2 separate regions of the Homo sapiens genome follow, and region 1 is linked to region 2. Evidence: promoter capture Hi-C in 16 types of primary human blood cells and fetal thymus (Javierre and others, 2016). All regions are on one chromosome and are shown on one strand. Each heading gives the region's core, a stretch centred on a gene start or on the middle of the fragment in contact. The rest is flanking DNA. Distances are from core to core; before and after follow the strand shown. Region 1 overlaps MLEC (malectin). Region 2 holds the start of TRIAP1 (TP53 regulated inhibitor of apoptosis 1).

Evidence for each region. The method cuts DNA at HindIII sites, captures the fragments that hold promoters and counts their contacts. A CHiCAGO score of 5 or more calls a contact.
Region 1: a contact is called between a fragment that was not itself captured here and the fragment with the promoter of TRIAP1 in region 2, in 1 of 17 cell types (M1 macrophages). The highest score is 6.4, in M1 macrophages.

The regions. Positions count from the first base shown.
Region 1 is chr12:120,694,452-120,697,848 of GRCh38, reverse strand. MLEC (malectin) reads right to left here. Exons shown (of 5, transcript NM_014730.4): 3 at 2,849-3,025; 4 at 2,697-2,754; 5 at 1-1,533. The coding sequence ends at 1,304. Among named protein-coding and RNA genes, the nearest start is that of MLEC, 9.0 kb to the right of the region's middle. The HindIII fragment of the contact is 186 bases long and covers 1,525-1,710 here.
Region 2 is chr12:120,444,566-120,448,103 of GRCh38, reverse strand. TRIAP1 (TP53 regulated inhibitor of apoptosis 1) reads left to right here and starts at 1,720. Exons shown (of 2, transcript NM_016399.3): 1 at 1,720-1,878; 2 at 3,149-3,538. The coding sequence starts at 1,732. The coding sequence ends at 3,232. It overlaps GATC (glutamyl-tRNA amidotransferase subunit C), which reads right to left and starts at 1,660. Exons shown (of 4, transcript NM_176818.3): 1 at 1,543-1,660; 2 at 1,275-1,447. The coding sequence starts at 1,623. RefSeq lists enhancers at 845-1,690, 1,524-1,818, 1,416-1,965, 1,180-2,379, 1,691-2,538. The HindIII fragment of the contact is 13,544 bases long and covers 1-3,096 here.

The DNA of each region.
Region 1 (3,397 bases), core at 368-2,867, 250 kb before region 2:
GGGGCATACTATTAAGATCAATAAGAAGCATCGCTGGGCCTATATAGCTAATTAGTCTAGTTCCTTGAAGTAGCTCTAGGCATAAACCAAAACTGGCTGAACTGTGACACACAAGAACATGGGAATAAATGAACATCAGATACCAGACACTCTAAACAGTGGTCAGTCACTTAGTAGGGCTCAAATCTCTGAGGTTGCTCTTAAGCTATGCTAACATAAGCCTTTTCTAATCCAAAGACCAGAAGAGACTTTTAAGGTCAAGTGTTCTGTTGCTGCAGGCTGGAAAGCATCCCTGCCCCCTGGCAGCAAGGCCCTACAAAGGGGCCAGTAAAGAACTGCTGGGTCAGGTCCTCCTGGCTGCTGGCTCAGAGATCCAGGGAGGGAGGTACCAACAAGGTGAGGTGGTAAAGGAGAAGACATTCAAGCAGAGAACCCCAAATCCCCGTGTCTCCTTCCCTTCTTGGCTATAACTTAGTGGGATGGTTGAGAGGGAGAAGAAATTTCAAATGAGCCAGATTAAGGAAACAAACAAACAAACAAAACTGAGAAGAAATCAAGTCCCCAACAGGCACTGAAATCAAAATGATTTGTTGTGGTAACAAGTCAGAGGCGATCTGAGGACCCGACATAACCGAAACGTCTTGGATGCTGGACAGTCTATAACTGGCACATGCCAGGGAGACAAGCAATGACAAAGCTCAAACACTAAAGGTGGGACCATCACTGGATTAATCCAGAAAGGCTTCCAGATAAGGAAGCATTTTCTTTCTTTTTTTTTAATCTCCCTACTTTTTTTTTTAAGTCTTTACCGCACAAATTCTACCCCTTCACACACATTCTTTCAATCCCAGGACGTCTGAAGTCTTATCTAGACATAACTTCAGACCGTACCTAACTCCCAGTGCTGGTCGTCTCAGGTAATAAGATGGCATTTCCCTGCTGTTAATTTCTAACCTAAAAAAAGGAACAGTGACTCCTCTGAGTTCAGAGTCCTTTCCACTAGGTATACAAATGAGGATCCTTGAGCAGGAAGGATCCAGTTTACCCTAAGTATCCTCAAGAGGAAAGAGAAGGCTGGGAGCCAGCCACAAAGAGAGGACGAGGACTGAAGCACGTCTGGGACCAGGTGGTGAATGAGGGCTGCTCTCTACTCGCTCTGCCTCTTTTTGTCTCCTTTAATTGATGTGTGTTTTTTTCTCTTTGTTTTTGTTCATTAATCATTGTGAAAAATACAGAAACCAAAACCAATATGGCTGGTTTCTTTCCCACACCCCTCCACCCTGTTCAGGATAGTCATTTGTTCTCACAACCGGCAGAGGCAGAAGAGGGTTGGAATGAAGACTCCGAAGGCCACCAGGATGGGAAACATGAGGCTGCTGTTGTCCGAGGCATAGGGGTTGGGTGTGCGGGGGCCTGACTGCACCCGGTTCTTATTGGTCTGTTTTTTGAGATTAGACCCTTCATCATATTCTTCTTCTTCTTCTTCCTCTTCTTTCTTCTCCAATCCCGGATGAGGCTGAAGCTTTGGTACATCTAACACAAGGAAGAAAACACTGTTAAGACCCACAGCATTTAAGTAAGAGAGACCCTTAAAAGCAGCAAATAAGCCACAATAAAGAGATTGCTGTGATTGAACCCGGGTCCAGAGAAAAGACCAGAAGTAGCAGAAATAGCCTCTGGTCTACAGAACAGCAGAGTGCTGCAAAAGCTTTAGATTTAACTAGAAAGTAGAAAAAGCCGTGCTCATAGGGAGGTTCACTATCTTACCTTCCTGTTCTACTTTTACAGAGCCCCAAGATAACCAGACTGGACAGGGACAATGATCCAATGCCTAAACTTTAGCCTTTTCAAATCCCTCCTCCTCCCACAAGCCCACATTCCCTTTTGATTCACACAACAACTGAAGAAACGTTGACCCAGAGAGTTCTGGGTTCCCAGCACACACTATCCCTCTGTCCTGCCTCCTCCTCAGGGACTTGAACACAGGTCTGTTTGGTGGTAAGACATTCATCCTCCTAGATGTCATAATATCAGCATTTGGGGGACATCAAGACAACAGGATGAAATCCTCAGTGCATTCAAGATTGAGTTGGGGAAAGGTACAGAGGTGGAATGGGGGAGAAATGTCACAAAGACGCAGCTTTCTCTGCAAAAATCAGCCTGAGATGCTGGCAGCCAGGAGAATCTAAACCCTGAGAAAGAAATATACTCTAAGACTTGATCCCAAGGATAAGGAGACATAAATAAGTGAAGTTTTGTCCCAGTGCAGTCCAGCAATGCTGGAATCTTTCAGAGCATACCAAAAGCCTACAGGACTCCTCCTTTTACCTTTTTTTCCCCTAGGAAAGAGATGTCAAACAAACAGAATAAGGACAAGTTTTAGGTGATCCCAAATGACTACAAAGGTCAGGGTACACCAATAGGTACCATTATTAATCCCAATTTATAGGGAAATTAAAAGCATCCATCCAAGACAAACATCTGATTAAATGGCAGCAACAAGATATACATAGACCTGACTCCAAAGCTTGTGGCTAGTACCATGTTATGCTTCATCCTTATCCAACTGATTCTGAATCCCCTACAATTTAGCTTTAAGTGTTTCCAAAATAGTCATCAGCTCAATTACCTCCCAAGGGCTTCCTCAACCATATCCCTCCACTCAAGTCAAAAAAGCAGGTCAGAACACAACCTACCATCCACTGTCCCAGCCATGATGTAGAGTGCACAGACCTTGGGATTGTCATAGTACCCCTAGGAAAAGGGAAACAGTGGTCAACCCCACACAGCAGCAAACAACTTCCCCTGTACCCACTCTCTTCAGCAATGGGCAGAATAGGGGAATTACCTTGACAAACTCAATGTAGAGTTTCCCTGTGAAGGTGGACACCTCCCCCTGGACACTCAGCTTCCCCTTTCTGATGCTCATAGGTATAATTTCATCGTGAGCTGTGCTATGCCCAACACGATCAAAGATATCCAAGTCCTTCACCACGACGTGGCCATTCAATCGTACATCAAATACCTTCCAGGATAAGAAAAGAAAACAATGTCAAAACCATCAGCTTTACATCCTTTCAAGCAGTTGGACATCATGCACGTGTTTGGGCTTGAAGTTCAAAAATAATTTAAGAAATGATGGGTCTGGATATCCAGGGTGGTTAGCATCCTTAACCCGGGTCAAATCAAAGCCGTGTTCCTTCACTGCCCAGGAGTTCTTATATTGGCTTTAAGGAACAAAGAATACAAACAAAAAGCTTAGCATAGGAAGAAGGAAATTCACAGGAAGGGACAGAGGAAAAATAAGGCTAAAAACAAGAAGGTGCGGCAAACCATGGAGGGAAGTAGCCAGGAGGGCCTTAACAGGATCAGTTAGTTGGCAAAACAAGGATTCTGG
Region 2 (3,538 bases), core at 471-2,970:
AGGAAAAAGAAAATTGCAAAGTAGAGAAGACATTTGAAAGAATCAAACACGGCCAGGTGCTGTGGCTCATGCCTGTAATCCCAGTACTTTAGGAGGCTGAGATGGGTGGATCACCTTTGCTCAGGAGTCCAGACAAGCCTGGGGAACATGGCAAAATCCCGTCTCTATCAAAAATACAAAAAATTAGCCAGGCCAAGTGGCACGCGCCTGTGGTCCTGTACTTGGGAGGCTGAGATGGGAGGCTCTCTTGAGTCTGGGAGGTGGACATTACAATGAGCTGAGATCATGCCACTGCACTCTAACCTGGGTGATAGAGTGAGACTCCATCTCAAAAACAAATAAAATAAAAATTCAAGGCAGGAATAAAACAGTAACTACATAATGAGCTCACATTTTAATAAAAGAGATATAACAAATGAACAAAAGTCCATTAAAATGTTAGGGAAAAAACCCAATAGGATGAGTTACTAACTAGAAGGGGAGAAGGGATTTGGAGTGGTTAGGAGAGCCCTTTCTGAGAAGATAAGCTGAGACCTGTGCCAAGAGGGAGGCAGCCATGCAAATACTGAGAGGAAGGAAAAAAACGAAGGGCCAGTGCAGAGATCTAGAGAGGAAAAGAACTTGTCTTGCTGGAGAAGCAGTCAAGGTAGCCAAGGAGAGTACTGAGAAGAGTACGTTGGAGTGAGTAGGTAGGGACTCTATGGAGTAGGGCCTTAAAGGCGATGATTAGGCCAGGCGCGGTGGCTCACACCTGTAATCCCAGCACTTTGGGAGGCCGAGGCGGGTGGATCACGGTCAGGAGTTCAAGACCAACCTGGCCAAGATGGTGAAACCACGTCTCTACTAAAAATACAAAAAAAATAAGCCGGGCCTGGTGGCAGTCGCCTGTAATCCCAGCTACTCGGGAGGCTGAGGCAGAGAATTGCTTGAACACGGGAGGCGGAGGTTGCAGTGAGCCGAGATCGAGCCACTGCACTCCAGCCTAGGCAACACAGCGAGACTCCGTCTCAAAAAAAAAAAAACAAAACAAACAAACAAAAAAAAAAACAAAGGCAGTGATTAGCAGTTCGGGTTTTGTTTCCACTTACACTAGCGAGAGCATCAGTAATGAACAAGGGGAAGAGTGAAGCCACTGACTCGCGAGGTGACTGTGGGCAAGTTCCTGAATCTTGCTAACACTCTTTAACCCCCTGGAAAACTGTTCGCTAATCGTCACATTAAACGGCTGCGAACGGGCCACGGTCAAGGCTTCGGGGCTGCAGCCGCGAGTTTACCTGTCCTCCAGGACCGATTCCATGGGCTCCACCCCGTCTGTGTCCACGGCGCGTAGCCGGTCGGCGAAGGCGATAGCTTTCTCCAGTCGCGCCACTGCCTCGCGGCTGCCGAAGTCCACAAGCGCTAGACGCTCCAGGTGCTCGATCACCGCAGCCGTGATCCGGCCACTGCCCTGGAGGAGGGATGAGGCGGGGAGTGTGGGTCACCGGCGCTCCGAAGTGCCTCCCGGCTTGCTCCGCCACCCGCCTAGATGGCCCTGGCCTTTACCTGAGGATCCGCCTTGGAGGTGAAGCCCTGGCGCCCGCCCAGAGGGGCCCGAAGGCCCAGCCACACCAACCGCGACCACATTTCTTCCTTCCTTGGCCCCCGCAGTGCGCCCGCGCGTAACGCCGAGCGACGCGCCTGAGAGTGATGACATCAGAGTGCGCCGTCGTCGCCGCCGCCACCACTGTCGCCATGAACAGTGTGGGGGAGGCATGCACGGACATGAAGCGCGAGTACGACCAGTGCTTCAATCGCTGGTTCGCCGAGAAATTTCTCAAGGGGGACAGCTCCGGGGACCCGTGCACCGACCTCTTCAAGCGCTACCAGCAGTGTGTTCAGGTGAGCCCTCCCGCCTCTGTTCCCAGGCCCTGCATTCTCGGCGCTGTGTCCCACCACACTCATCGTATTTTACGGGGATTGGGACTGGACTGGAAGGGTGGAGAAAAGTCGCAGTGAGGCCAGTGGCAGGAGCTCGCTCCCCTACCATCACCACCGAGGCCACTTGGGTGTCTCTCCGAATGACAAATATTGGGGCAGTGCTTTTCAAGAAGCACAGTCACATCCTTTGGTTCATTTGGTGTTCACCCTAAACTCGCAAGGTGGGCATAGTTACTCATATTTTATACATAAAAAACTAACACCCAGAAATAGGAAGTGATTAATCCGAGTTCACTAGCATCAGGTTTCCTTGGTTCTTTCGCAGGTGGTGCACTTTTCCACTATTACTGCTGGGGTCTGGGCGGGATTATACTTCAGAATTCAGACTGGAGGGTCACATTTTTTTGTTGTTATAAACCCTTCGTTAGCCTGTTTCTCTCTCTTGACCAGTCCCCGCAACTGCAGCCAGGAAATGTTTATTCTGGCCCAATGGATGTGGAACTGCTTTGAATTGTTAAGAACAGCACCGGGCAAAGCACTTCCAATAAGTTAACCCAACACATCCTCACAGCAATTCCCCGAGGTAGTTGCTGTCTTCATCCCATTTACAGTTAGTCACATAGCCAGTAAGTCCTGGAACCCAGATTTGAACCTAAGTCTTTCACTAACACAAAGTGATGATTATTTTTCAAATTTCACTTAATTTTAACGGTTCCCTCACAACTCCTTTTCCAGTCTCCCTCAGGTCTTACACTTGATTTATTCATTATGGTACTTCTGGTTTTTATTTATTTTTGAGGCAGAGTCTCACTCTGTCTCCCAGCCTGGAGTGCAATGGCACAATCTCAGCTCACTGCAACCTCCGCCTCCCAGGTTCAAGCTATTCTCATGCCTCAGCCACCCGAGTAGCTGGGCTTACAGGCATGCGCCACCATGCCCAGCTAATTTTTGTATTTTTAGTATAAACAGGGTCTCGCCATGTTGGCCAGGTTGGTCTCTAACTTCTGGCCTCAAGTGATCCACCTGCCTTGGTCTCCCAAAATGCTGCGATTATAGGCGTGAGCCACCACACCTGACCGGTACTTGTTTTTTAAAAAGTATGTGGTTTGAATCATGGTTATAAGTCTTTATAATCAGCTTGATTTTACTTTTGTACTGTCATATTTTATTTACAAAGCTTGCAACTTAAGCTTCATGTAGGTCTTTATAATGTGTTTTCTCCTCCTACCAGAAAGCAATAAAGGAGAAAGAGATTCCTATTGAAGGACTGGAGTTCATGGGCCATGGCAAAGAAAAGCCTGAAAATTCTTCTTGACCTTGACAGTCACCTTGAAGGATTTCGCAAGTCCAGAAATTGAGGACTCTGGATTTTTGTCAACTAACTCTGTGAACATAGCCATCAGATTTGATGAGGAACTTAGGAGAGAGGAGTTTTATTTCCTCCTTCGATGTTTTCCTCTCAGTTGTAAAAGATGAACTCTTTGAGATGATTTCTCACCTGCTGTGGTATCTTGCAGGAACTGTGTGCTAAAATTGAACAATTTTTTTGAGATTATGGTTGCAATACTTGGCGTGGAATCAGCTTTACATAAATATACCTTGTATGCAAACGATGATAAAC